3 separate regions of the Homo sapiens genome follow, and regions 1 and 2 are each linked to region 3. The links are contacts of gene promoters, found by promoter capture Hi-C in blood cells and fetal thymus (Javierre and others, 2016). All regions are on one chromosome and are shown on one strand. The core of a region is centred on a gene start or on the middle of the fragment in contact, and the rest is flanking DNA. Distances in the headings are between cores, read along the strand shown. Region 1 overlaps TANC2 (tetratricopeptide repeat, ankyrin repeat and coiled-coil containing 2). Region 2 overlaps FTSJ3 (FtsJ RNA 2'-O-methyltransferase 3). Region 3 holds the start of TACO1 (translational activator of cytochrome c oxidase I).

Evidence for each region. The method cuts DNA at HindIII sites, captures the fragments that hold promoters and counts their contacts. A CHiCAGO score of 5 or more calls a contact.
Region 1: a fragment that was not itself captured here is called in contact with the fragment with the promoter of TACO1 in region 3 in 7 of 17 cell types (non-activated CD4 T cells, total CD4 T cells, activated CD4 T cells and 4 more); the score reaches 7.3 in non-activated CD4 T cells.
Region 2: a contact is called between a fragment that was not itself captured here and the fragment with the promoter of TACO1 in region 3, in 1 of 17 cell types (neutrophils). The highest score is 7.1, in neutrophils.

Annotation. Positions count from the first base shown.
Region 1 is chr17:63,407,304-63,411,228 of GRCh38, forward strand. The region is part of intron 21 of TANC2 (tetratricopeptide repeat, ankyrin repeat and coiled-coil containing 2); the gene reads left to right. The region is part of intron 2 of LOC105371856 (a long non-coding RNA gene); the gene reads right to left. Among named protein-coding and RNA genes, the nearest start is that of CYB561, 37 kb to the right of the region's middle. The HindIII fragment of the contact is 2,236 bases long and covers 1,473-3,708 here.
Region 2 is chr17:63,819,515-63,823,262 of GRCh38, forward strand. FTSJ3 (FtsJ RNA 2'-O-methyltransferase 3) reads right to left here. Exons shown (of 21, transcript NM_017647.4): 14 at 2,470-2,654; 15 at 2,209-2,329; 16 at 1,840-2,129; 17 at 1,516-1,601; 18 at 1,325-1,424; 19 at 741-924; 20 at 565-659; 21 at 1-480. The coding sequence ends at 288. Among named protein-coding and RNA genes, the nearest start is that of PSMC5, 6.0 kb to the right of the region's middle. RefSeq lists an enhancer at 311-1,510. The HindIII fragment of the contact is 6,337 bases long and covers 1-3,748 here.
Region 3 is chr17:63,599,282-63,603,427 of GRCh38, forward strand. It overlaps TACO1 (translational activator of cytochrome c oxidase I), which reads left to right and starts at 1,614. Exons shown (of 5, transcript NM_016360.4): 1 at 1,614-2,082. The coding sequence starts at 1,803. The HindIII fragment of the contact is 11,259 bases long and covers 958-4,146 here.

The DNA of each region.
Region 1 (3,925 bases), core at 1,341-3,840, 190 kb before region 3:
GCTTCATGCTCTCTCCCTTCATTCTGCTGGGGAAGCAAGGAGGAGGAAGGTTGGGCCTAGATTCTCAAGATAAGATGTGTCCAGAGTAATATTCCAGAACAAACCAAGTCCACTGAAAGAGGCAGGAACTCTTGAGCCACTGATAACCTTTAGATAGCTGCAAAGTACCTGTCATGTGCCAGTAGAGGCTCCGTAGCCATAGATTCCAGGTATTTGTTCTCCCTTACCAGTGAAGACATTTTCATCTTTGGACTGTTTCATTTTTTTCCACACTTAGAGGCTTAATGAATTCAACAAAGATTTATTTAGGCTATGTTATTAGCAGAACACTATACTAGGAACTATGAGTGGTTCTGATTTTTTTAATTAATACACTATAACCTGTGCCCTCAAAGGGTCTATAATGTGGCAGGGAAGAGATGAAACAAAGATAAATGCCTTAAAAAGCGGAGAATCCTGAGTGCTCTGATACAGGCGTCCGTTGAGTTAGACTAGGACAGACTTTGAAATTCGAAGAGGAAAAATGTTTTGTATTTAGGGAGAGGAAGTAACATAGATGAAAGGCCAAAGAGGAATGACAGGTTTGGAGAAATATGCAAGCTGTCTAGTAAAATGTAAGGGGACTACGGAAAATAAAATTGGAAAGGTATGTGGAAATGGAAAAGGACCAAGTTAGAAGAATCTGGACTTAATTCTAAAGGAATCTGGGGAGGCTTTAAAAATTTTAAATAAGGAATTGATGGCAGAGTTATGCTTTAAAAACAATCACTCTGGCAGTATGTGAACAGCAGATTTGACAAAGGAGCCAGGAGATCAGTTAGGAAGCCATCGTAATGGAACATATGAGGCATAATGAGGTCCTAACCCAAGGGCAGTAGCTTTCAGCATAGAACAAAAAAGGGCTATGTGCAAGAGGTATTTTGGATATGAAGCCTGATTAGATGTAGGAAATAAGGATAGAACAGTTAAAGATAACTCCAGAGTTGTAAGACGGACATTTGGGAGAATTGTGATTTCATTAACTGCATGAGAAAGAAAAGAGAGAAGAGGAAGATTACAAATTGGATTTTGGAAGTATTTAACATATTATGGATTTGTTTCATGTGTATCTCCTTTTAATTTCTTCTCTTTCCTTATCTTTGGAAAAATCAGTTCATCTGTAATGTACATCCAAAACTTTCTTATCCTACTCTTTCCTCCACTGGATACTTTGTCCAGGAAATTTATAGATGTTGCATCTGAGAAAACGCCTTGGATTCTGTTCCGTATTTAAACTTATTCCATATTAGAGTCAGTGTTTTAATTGCAAACTATACCATTACATAAATGGCTCTCATCAGGATTAAGGGATGGTCCCTTCCAGCTTTTCATCCTCCTGTGGGAAACCATAGACTCTAATGACCTCCAGAGATGCAAAGGTGATAGGCTAGATAACTGCTGAGTAAACCCTGAGCCTGCTGTGGCAGGTGCTAAGCTTGAGCTGACATCCGAATCCTGTCCAGCTGAGGGGGCAGCCAAGTGTCCTGGTGCAGTAAGTTGATCTCTGATGTAGTTAAATATGACATGCCTACTGTGTGAAAAGCGTTGTCTTAGGTACTCTTCTAGCAAGTAAATGATTCGCTTCTTACCATTGAAGGCCTTACAGTCTGGGTCTTAAGAACCAAATGTATATTGGATTTTAGACTGATTACAAAACAGCATGTCAGGTATGCTTGATCCTTTCAAGTGAAAATAGAAATGTTGAAGGGAAACAGATCCAGAATATGAAAGGGTGGGTGGAGAATTTAAAAGTGGGGATGGAGTTATTGAATAAGGCTGAGTAGTTTAAACTCTGAATTTTTTGTTTATTTGTATTTGTTTTTTGTTTTTGTTTTTGTCTTTTTTTAGAGGCAAGGTCTCACTCCATCACCCAGGCTGGAGTGCAGTGGCCTGATCATAGCTCACCAAAGCCTGGAACCCCTGGGCTCAAGCGATCCTCCCATCTCATCCTCCCATCTCAGCCTTCCTAGTAGCTAAGACTACAGGCTCACACCACCACCACACCTGGCTAATTTTTTAGTTTTTTGTAGAGACAGTCTCACCATGTTGCCCAGGCTGGTCTCAGATTTCTGGCCTCAAGCAGTCCTCCCACCTCGGCCTCCAAAAGTGCTGGGATTATAGGTGTGAGTTACTGCACCCAGCCAAATATTTATTTTTTTAATTGACAAGTAAAAATGGTATATGCAGTTATGTATCACTTAACAAAGGGGAGATGTTCAGAGAAATGCATTCCAAGAATTGTGTCCTTAGGTGATTTTGTCATTTGTAAACATCATAGAGTGCACTTACACAATCCTAGATGGTATAGCCTACTACACACCTAGGCTGTATAGTATAGCCTGGTGCTCCTAGGCTACAAACCTGTACAGCGTATTAACTGCACTGAGTTACTGTAAACAGTTGTAACACAGTGGTATTTGTGTAGCTAAACATATCTAACCATAAAAAGGAACAGTATTTATGGTGTACAACATGATGTTTTGATGCAGGCTGTATATCCCTTATCTGAAATGCTTAGTTATATATCGCTTATCTGAAACACTTCTGTTGGGATTTTATTTTTTGCATTTTGAAGTATTTGCATTATACTTACTGGTTGAGCATTTCTAATCCAAAAATGTGAAATCCAAAATGCTGCAATGAGTATTTCCTTTGAGTGTCATGTTGGTGCTCAAAAAGGTTCAGATTGTGGAGCATTTCTGAAATCAGATTTTCAGATGAGGGATACTCAAGCTGTATATGTATACATTGTGGAATGGCTAAATCAAGCTACTTAATGTGTGCATTACCTTACACACTTTTTTCTTCTGGTGAAAATGCTTAAAATGTACTTTCACAACAGTTTTCAAGTATATATTGTTATTAACTATCACTATGACTATAGTTAACTATAGAGTAGATTTAGTGTACTAGTTAGTAACTAGTACCGTAGATCTCTTGAACTTATTTCTTCTTTCTAAGTGAATTTTGTGTCTTTGACCAACATCTCTCCAATCCCCCCCCCCCATCTCCTAGTTTCTGGTAACCACCATTTTATTCTTTGATTCTATGAATTTAACTTTATTAGATTAAACTCTAGATTTCTTTCTTGTCCTGGGCTCAGTGTCCTCTCGTGTTTATTTCCCCCACCTGGGGAGGGAGAAGGGGCCCTGGCATCGTGATCAATGACAAACATGTCCTGGGCTCCTATTTGATGAGACTGTCTCAAGGAGTTAGCACTATTATCAATGGAAGGCTTCTGCTCAGCTCAGAAAACATTCACCGAACTCTGGTGCAGTGAGGGCCGAGGCAGGTGGATCACTTGAGGTCAGGAGTTCAAGACCAGCCTGGCCAACATGGTGAACCCCATCTCTACTAAAAATACAAAAATTAGCCAGGCATGGTGGTGCATGCCTTTAATCCCAGCTACTTAGGAGGCTGAGGCAGGAGAATTGTCTGAACCCGGGAGGTGGAGGTTGCAGTGAGCCAAGATTGGGCCACTGCACTCCAGCCAGGGCAACGGAGCAAGACTCCATCTCAAAAAAAAAAAAAAAAAAAAAAAAAAAAAGAAGCAGAAGAAAATGCTCATTGAGAATTTATTACATGCAAATAGTATACATAAAAAGAAATAATGGAATAAGTTGACTTATGTTAAGCATACTTAAGATGAGGTAGCAGTGAACTGTGAGAAGCTTCTTAGAGGCAGGAGGATGGAGATAGTTCCTAGAGAATGAGAAGTGAGGCAAGTCATGGGGGAAGAAAAGCTCTTCCACACATGGAGCAGCATGACCAAGAGTGAGGATGCAGGAGGATTTACGGGAGATCCGAGAGGCAGAGAGTGAGGATGCGGGAGGATTGACGGGAGATCCGAGAGGCAGTGAGCACATCCATTTGGCCAAAGTGGAGG
Region 2 (3,748 bases), core at 1,017-3,516, 220 kb after region 3:
ACATTGAGTATCGCTCCAACACCGAACTTCCCTTTAACGGTTTAAAAAAAGGGTCATGAGTGTCAACACAGTTCAGCAGTGTTTTCATGGGAGACCTTCAGGCAGGCAGGAGGACATCCTCCTCTCTGCTCAGGACCACCACGGGAGTTCTAGGCACTCCACCTCACTGTTCTTCAGACAGCTGTGATGTGAGCAGGGGCTAGGCCGGTAATCAAGGGGGCCAGACTGAGCCATGCCACACCCTTCCTCCTAGTCCCCATGCTCTCCTGGGAGCCTGGCAGCTCTGCTTACTTCCGTTTGTGTTTTTTCTTTTGTTCCTTACGTTGCTGTGCTCTTTGGTCCTTCTTCATCCTTGAGTCCACCACCTTGAAATGACCTCTGACTCCAGCTGGCCGGCGCACTTTGCGGCCCACACCTTTTTTGGCTACAACGTAGGTGACATGGCGTTTCTCCTTGCCAAGCCCAGCCTTCTTGTAGAGACTACAGGGGGGAAGAGAAGAGGTTAGAGGCTTGCTTTCTGCTGCACTTTTAGCCCTGTGTACCTTTGTGGTGTCCTCCCATTACCTTCGCAGCTGTGCCACTTTCTCTCGTTCTGAGATGTCCACTGTGTTCACCACGGCTTCTGCCTTCTTCCTGGTCTGCTCCAGCCTCTTCAGCATCTGCAAAGGAACCTGTCAGGTGACCTCTTCCCCATCCCCCCACCCCCACCCCACCCAATCTCTGGAGGCCCCATCACTTACCCTCCTTTTCTTTCTAGCCTTAGCCTCAGCCACCTTCTTGATGGGACGTGCATTGATTTCCCGCCAGCGTTTCCGGTAATGCTCCACCTCCTTCTTACCAACAGGCAACTGTCGTATCCGGTGCTGCTTTTCCTCTTGCACAAACCACTCCGGAAGCTCCCCCTCATCCTCATTAAATGTGTACCTGAGTGGAAAGGACATCTGTCTAATATCCAACATTCCAGGCTTTCTAAAGAAATTACCAGACTGGGCACGGTGGCTCACGCCTGTAATCCCTGCACTTTGGGAGGCTGAGGTGGGCAGATCACCTGAGGTCAGGAGTTTGACCAGCCTGGCCAACATGGTGAAACCCCATCTCTACTAAAAATACAAAAATTAGCTGGGCGTGGTGGTTGGCACCTGTAATCCCAGCTACTCAGAAGGCTGACTCAAGCGATTCAAGGAGAATCAGGCTGCAGTGAGCCAAGATCGTGCCATTGCACTCCAGCCTGGGCAACAGAGCGAGACTCCATCTCAAAAACAAAAAATTACCCATTTACCCACCAGACCCTGGGTCACTCTTGATGAGTTTATGGCCCCTTTACCGGTTGAAGGAGTTATCTATGAGGTCTCTCTTGGCCTTTTTGGAAGAGGCAATAACAGCACCTAGAGCAAGGCCTTCGGGGTCCAGTATCCGATGTTTCGCTAGAGAGGGAAGGAGAAAGGTCAAAGCTCAATTCCCAATACTGAGACTTCCAGTGGTCTTTTCTCATTCCACTGCATACAGAGCTCTCACCTGGGTCCTCAATAGGCACTATCTCAAACCCGTCATCATCTGACTTAGGCCCACGGCTTCGCTTCTTACCACGGAGGGGTTCCCAGCTGTGAAGAGGGGAGGACTCTGAGTGATTCCACCACTCTGTACTACTCAGACCGCACTCCCACGGAATTTGCAAAAATCCTGCCATGCAGGCTGTACCCCAGACCAGTTAAATCAGGATCGTCAGTACAGTATTTTTAACCCTCCCCATGTGCAGCCAAGATTAAGAACCCCCAATTTAGAGAAATGGTTCAAGCCACCGCTTCCTTTCCATCCCTTCTCTCAGCTGCAACTACTCACCTCTCTTCTTCCTCACTGCTAGTACTGCTATCACTGTCTGAGATGCCATCCTTTTCTTCCCCTTCAAGGCCAGTGGCAGCTTCTGTCCCCGAAGAAGCCTCTGTTCCCTTAGGGGCTTCATCTTGGTACAGGGGAGACATTATCTCAGTCTTCAAACAGGAAGGGGGTGTCTGTGGCAGCTGCTGCTTCTGCTGCTGCTGCCGTCCCTTCCGCCGGTTCTCAAATAACAGCTGGGCCTGACTGATCTCCAGGGCCTCATCGGCATCGTCCTCGATCCCAGCAAAGCTGCCCTGTGATAGGAGAACATCAGCTGCCCTTCTCCCAAGGAAGACTCATCTCCCCGCAGTCTTGCCCCCGGCCTCTCCTTACCTTTGAGAACCACAGGTTGGCTTGTTCTTCCTGCAGTACTGCCTTTTCCTCCAGTGGTACCAGCAGTGGATTCTCCTCCTCCTCCTCCTCTTTATCATCTTGCACTTCAGTAAGTCGCATACTGTAGACCCAAAGGAAAGTAGGGGGCTCAGAGACCCAGATTGCCTGGAGCCCTTGCTGCCCTACTCAGGCTCTGGTAGTACCCACCCTAACACTTCCTCAGAGTGGCAGCATTCCCTTTGGTGCACACGTGCCCCTTACCGCTTTTGGTCCCTTAGACCCTGATGTCCCCTGACTCCTGCCAGCTCCTCTGGATCCAGGTCACTATCCAGAGATGTGTCATCACCGTCGTCCTCAACATCTGACACATAGATATCATCCCTTGGCAGATCGGACAGAAATGTGTCTGCTGCACTCATATCCCCTTGTGTTACTTCCTCTAATAACTGAAGTGTAACAGAAACAAAGGTAAACTATTTAAAAGGAAATATACTGTTTTTTTTTCTGTGTCCCTCACCTCAGTCTATGCTCAGCAACACTAGAAAGAACACTGGCAAATCCATTATCCTTTCACAGATGGGAAAGCTCAGATCCAGGGTAGTGAATGGCCTGTTTACAACATCCCGTTCTAGGCTGGGTTACTGATCTATCCCACTCAGCTGTCTTGTCTCAGTGGTATCACAAATAGGTCTTAAGGAAGGTACCTACAGCCCACATAGCACCAAATCTTAACATATTCTACAACACTGGTTTTCCTTTAAAAATTATTCTCAGACAGCATCTCAATCATCTCCTGAGAATACCGTCTACACAGTTTGTTTCCACTGAATAAAAGGGGCCCAGCCAACATACATCCAACAAAACTGTTCCACTTAAACCAATTGTCAGAACCTTTTATTTTCCTCATGGTAAAGATACTAGGCTGGGTATGGTGGCTCACACCTGTAATCTCAGCATTTTGGGAGGCTGAGGCAGGAGGATTGCTTGATGCCAGGAGTTTGAGGCTGCAGTGAGTCATGATGGCACCACTGAACTCCAGCCTGGGTGACAAAACAAGATCTTGTCTCAAAGGAAAAACTCCAACTACTATTTCTTGAGTGTTTATCACATATGAGGGATTACACCTATCTTTTTTTATTCCTCACCAAAAACTCTAGTAGGTAGGTTCTATTATTGTTTTACAGATGAGGAAACTGAGGCAGCAAGGATAAGTGGTAGTCAGCTCAGTCACTTCACAAAGCTCCAGGTGGTAGAGCTGGGAAGGAAACCTGAGCCTGTGTCTGCTCTAGGGCCACCATGCTCTACTGCCCTCCTGTACAACAAAGATGACCTGATTATGACACTCCCACACATAAGCCACAAAAGTTCATTTTGTTTGTGACCCTGATTTTGTCAGGAAAAACATGTTCTTCAGTATTCAGTGGAAGTACCCTAATGCGAGTGCTCACTTGGTCTCAATGAACTAAAGAATGCTGCTCCCCTCTGAGGGAGATCCTCTATTCATCTGTGCTTGAAACTCAAGTAACCTGGCAGCATCTAC
Region 3 (4,146 bases), core at 364-2,863:
CTTTGAATTGGTGATCTGTGTGATCTGTGAAATATGTCAAAACTTAATTTTTTAAAAAATGAGAACTGTGTTGGGCATAGGAAGTACAGTCCTACTCTCAGAGAATTTAGTATTACGGTAGAAACAGATATAAACATTTTGATATTTTTTTAAAAGGTAAGTGCTAAGGTGCAAGCATGTATGAAGGGCTATGGGCACCCACCGCACCTGGCTAATTTTTGTATTTTTAGTAGAGACGGGGTTTCACCATGTTGACCAGGCTGGTCTTGAACTCCTGACCTCAAGTGATCTGCCAGCCTCGGCCTCCCAAAGTGCTAGGATTACAGGCGTGAGCCACCGCACCCAGCCCCATGGAGGTTCTTATATAATAAAAAATAAAAAATCTATGCTTTTGTGCTTTGCATCCATTATCCCATTTAGTCCTCACAAGGCCATTCTATGGTAAGGAAACTGAAACAGGAAAGTAAAGGAACTTGCCCAAGGATACACTAGAAAATGGAACAACCAGGGTTTGAAGCCACCCAGTCTAACTGCAGAGGGCACAAACTTGGACTTCACACTGTCCTGCTTCTCTCTCTCTCTCTCTCTCTTTTTTTTTTTTTTTTTTGAGTTGGATTCTCGCTCTGTCGCACAGGCTGGAGTGCAGTGGCGCGATCTCGGCTCACTGCAACCTCCTCTTCCCGGGTTCAAGCGATTCTCCTGCCTCATCCTTCTGAGTAGCTGGCATTACAGGCGCGCGCCACCACGGCCGGCTAATTTTTTTGTATTTTTAGTAGAGACGGGGTTTCACCATGTTGGTCAGACTGGTCTGGCACTCCTGACCTAGCGATCCGTCTGCCTCAGCCTCCCAAAGTGCTGGGATTACAGGCGTGAGCCACCGCGCCCGGCTGTCCTGCTTCTCTACCTGATATGTCATGCCCTTTGGACTTAATCTCACCAGCATGGGAGTCACTACAAAGCTTTTCAGCAGCTGCCGCTTTGTTTCTCTCCATCTTCTAACGGATTCGGTTTTCTCTTTCGAGACAGCAGAGAGAAAATGAAGAGGGGAGTTTAGCTCCAAAGGGCTTGTCTGATCATTCTCCCTCTCCCAAAGGCCTGTGACTCATCTGAGTCTGTCCCAAACCATCTCTTGCATCTAGGGGCTTAAGTGCACTGTGGCTATTTACATAAAACTTTATTACTTTAAAGCTCTAAGGGCTCATTTTGTGTTTCTAACTTTCCTATGTTGATAAAGCAAATATTAGATCCTTATTTATAAATAGGGAAGACGTTCAGAGAGATTAAACATTTGGGCAATTCACTTCTCTGGCAGCAGTTTCTTTCCCAGTACAATGAGGCAACAACAAAATATCATTCTGGACTTGCTCAGATTTAGGCAGCAATTTGGAAGCAAAGTCAGTTTCATAACTCAGATGTGTCTCCACTAAAACATTATGAGAAACAAAGTCCGGCGCTCTCTAGGCAACCGTGAGGGCTTGAGCACTAACTAGATCTGCTCAAGGGCAAGAGAGGAGCGAGTACCGTGCAGCCACGGAACGGACTTTGCGGGCAGTGGGGACGTGTTTTTGGAGCGAACCCGGTAAAGGAAGTGTGCTACGCCATCAAGGGCCCCCAGTCCCGGGTGCCGCGGGGACAGTGTAGGGTCATTAGCTGTTGAGCCGCCCCGGGCGGGCCCAAGCCTTTGGATCTCAGGTGACCGGCACAGGCGGCCGCGGGGTCCGGAACTGCTTGTTCCGGCAGTGGAAGAGACGCGCCGGCGTTGGCCGCTGCTGCTAGCAGCTTGAACCCCAGGGTCGGGACCGATGTCGGCTTGGGCTGCTGCCAGCCTAAGCAGGGCCGCTGCCCGATGCTTGCTGGCACGAGGCCCCGGGGTCAGGGCGGCTCCTCCGCGCGACCCCCGGCCCTCCCACCCCGAGCCCCGGGGCTGCGGTGCCGCTCCGGGCAGGACGCTGCACTTTACCGCGGCTGTCCCCGCCGGGCACAACAAGTGGTCCAAAGTCAGGCACATCAAGGGTCCGAAGGACGTCGAAAGGAGTCGCATCTTCTCCAAACTCTGTTTGAACATCCGCCTGGCAGTGAAAGGTGAGACCCTGACGGTCACCCAGCACTGGCTGCCGCTGCCCTCTCAGTGCCCGCAGCCTCGCTTGCCTCTCGGAATTGGGCCCACCTAGATCTCCGGCCCTTCACTTTGTTTTCCTTCCCCAGTACCCACCATTGCCCACCTCATAAATCCTCAAAACACCTACCCTACGTTGGAGGTTCTCACTCACTTTTCCAGACGCTGAGCATCTGGCCAGTTTGTCAGAGAGGGAGCTGCTCTTAAGAAGATAAGCCGGTAAGGTAGAAGTGACTTCATCCTAATCTAGCTGGGTACTTAATAGAAACAAGCCCTAAGAGTCAGGGCAGATGTGTGTCTCTCCTGAAGAGACAAATCAACCCCTCTGAAGTCGCCTCAAGTACCTTATTGGTTGTGGCAGGGGCACTGAGTAAAGCTATTACTTAAGTGCTTAGGCCTTAGCTTAGGCCTTAGTTTGCTTCATTAATGTTTCCCCAAGACACATTTCCTTGGAAGGTAGATTTGCAGCCATGTCTTTTCTCCCTTAGGTCGCCACACTGAAAAGGCTTTTTTTCTGTTTAGGGCCAGACATCTGTAGGAGCAAAGGAAAAGTCCTGTAGAAAGCATGGACTTTGGACTGGGCGCAGTGGCACAGCCTGTAATCCCAGGCCAGAGGCAGGCAGATCACTTGAGGTCAGGAGTTCAGGACTAGCCTGGCCAACATGGGGAAACCCTGTGTCTACTAAAAATAACAAAAAAAAAAAAAAAAAAAAACAGCTGGGCATGGTGGTGCATGCCTGTAATGCTGGCTACTCGGGAGGCTGAAGCAGGAGAATTGCTTGAACCCAGGAGTTGAAGGCTGCAGTAAGCGAGATTGCTCTACTGTACTCCATCCAGCCTGGGTGACAGAGCAAGACTCCATCTCAAAAAAAAAAAAAAAAAAAGAGAGAGAAACTGTGGACTTTGGAGTCAGGAAGACTGGTTTCTGTCACTGACTAACCTTGAACAAGTAGCTTAACTTGAGTTTCTCTGAAACAAGGATAATACCCACCTTGAGGTAGTTTATGGTTTATGGCACATCATAGGCATTCAGTTAATGTTAATTTACCCCCTCAGCTCATGCCTGGTATTTGTTTGCTTCCTTTTCTTCAAAATTCTTGATATTAAGTTCAAGCAACTTTTATTTATTTATTTATTTATTTATTTTGAGACAGAGTCTCACTCTGTCACCCAGGGTAGAGTGCAGTGGCGTGATCTTGGCCCATTGCAACCTCCACCTCCCAGGCTCAAGTGATTCTCCTGCTTTAGCCTCCGGAGTAGCTGGGACTACAAGTGTGCACCACCATGCCTGGCTAAATTTTTTTGTATTTTTAATAGAGACAGGGTTTCACCATGTTGGCCAGGCTGGTCTCGAACTCCTGACCTCAAATGATCTACCCACCTCCACCTCCCAAAGTGCTGGGATTGCAGGTATCAGCCACTGCATCCCAATGAAGTTCAACCAACTTGTGTTTATTTTGTGCCAGGCATGCCATTGGTACTAGAAAGATGATGAGATACAGCCCCTACCCTCAGATCACAATGTCATGTGAACATTTCAATAATTATGCACAAAGTGCTGGGCACGGTGGCTCACACCTGTAATCTCAACACTTTGGGAGGCTGAGGCCGGCGGATCACGAGGTCAGATCGAGACCATCCTGGCTAACACGGTGAAACCCCGTCTCTACTAAAAATACAAAAAAATTAGCCAGGCGTGGTGGTGGCGGGCGCCTATAGTCCCAGCTACTCAGGAGGCTGAGGCAGGAGAATGGCGTGAACCCAGAAGGCGGCGCTTGCAGTGAGCCGAGATTACACCACTGCACTCCAGCCTGGGCAACAGAGGAAAACTCTGTCTCAAAAAATAATAATAAAAATAAAATAAAATAAAAATAATTATTATGCACAAAGTAGTAGAGTAAGAGCAGTAATGAGTCCAGGAAGTGTTGTTACCATCTATAACCCTTCTTCATCTGACACAAAGTAGAGATCGCTGAAACCTAGCAGAATGAAAACCATCCCTAAAGACAATGAATTAGAAAGTTCTGGCC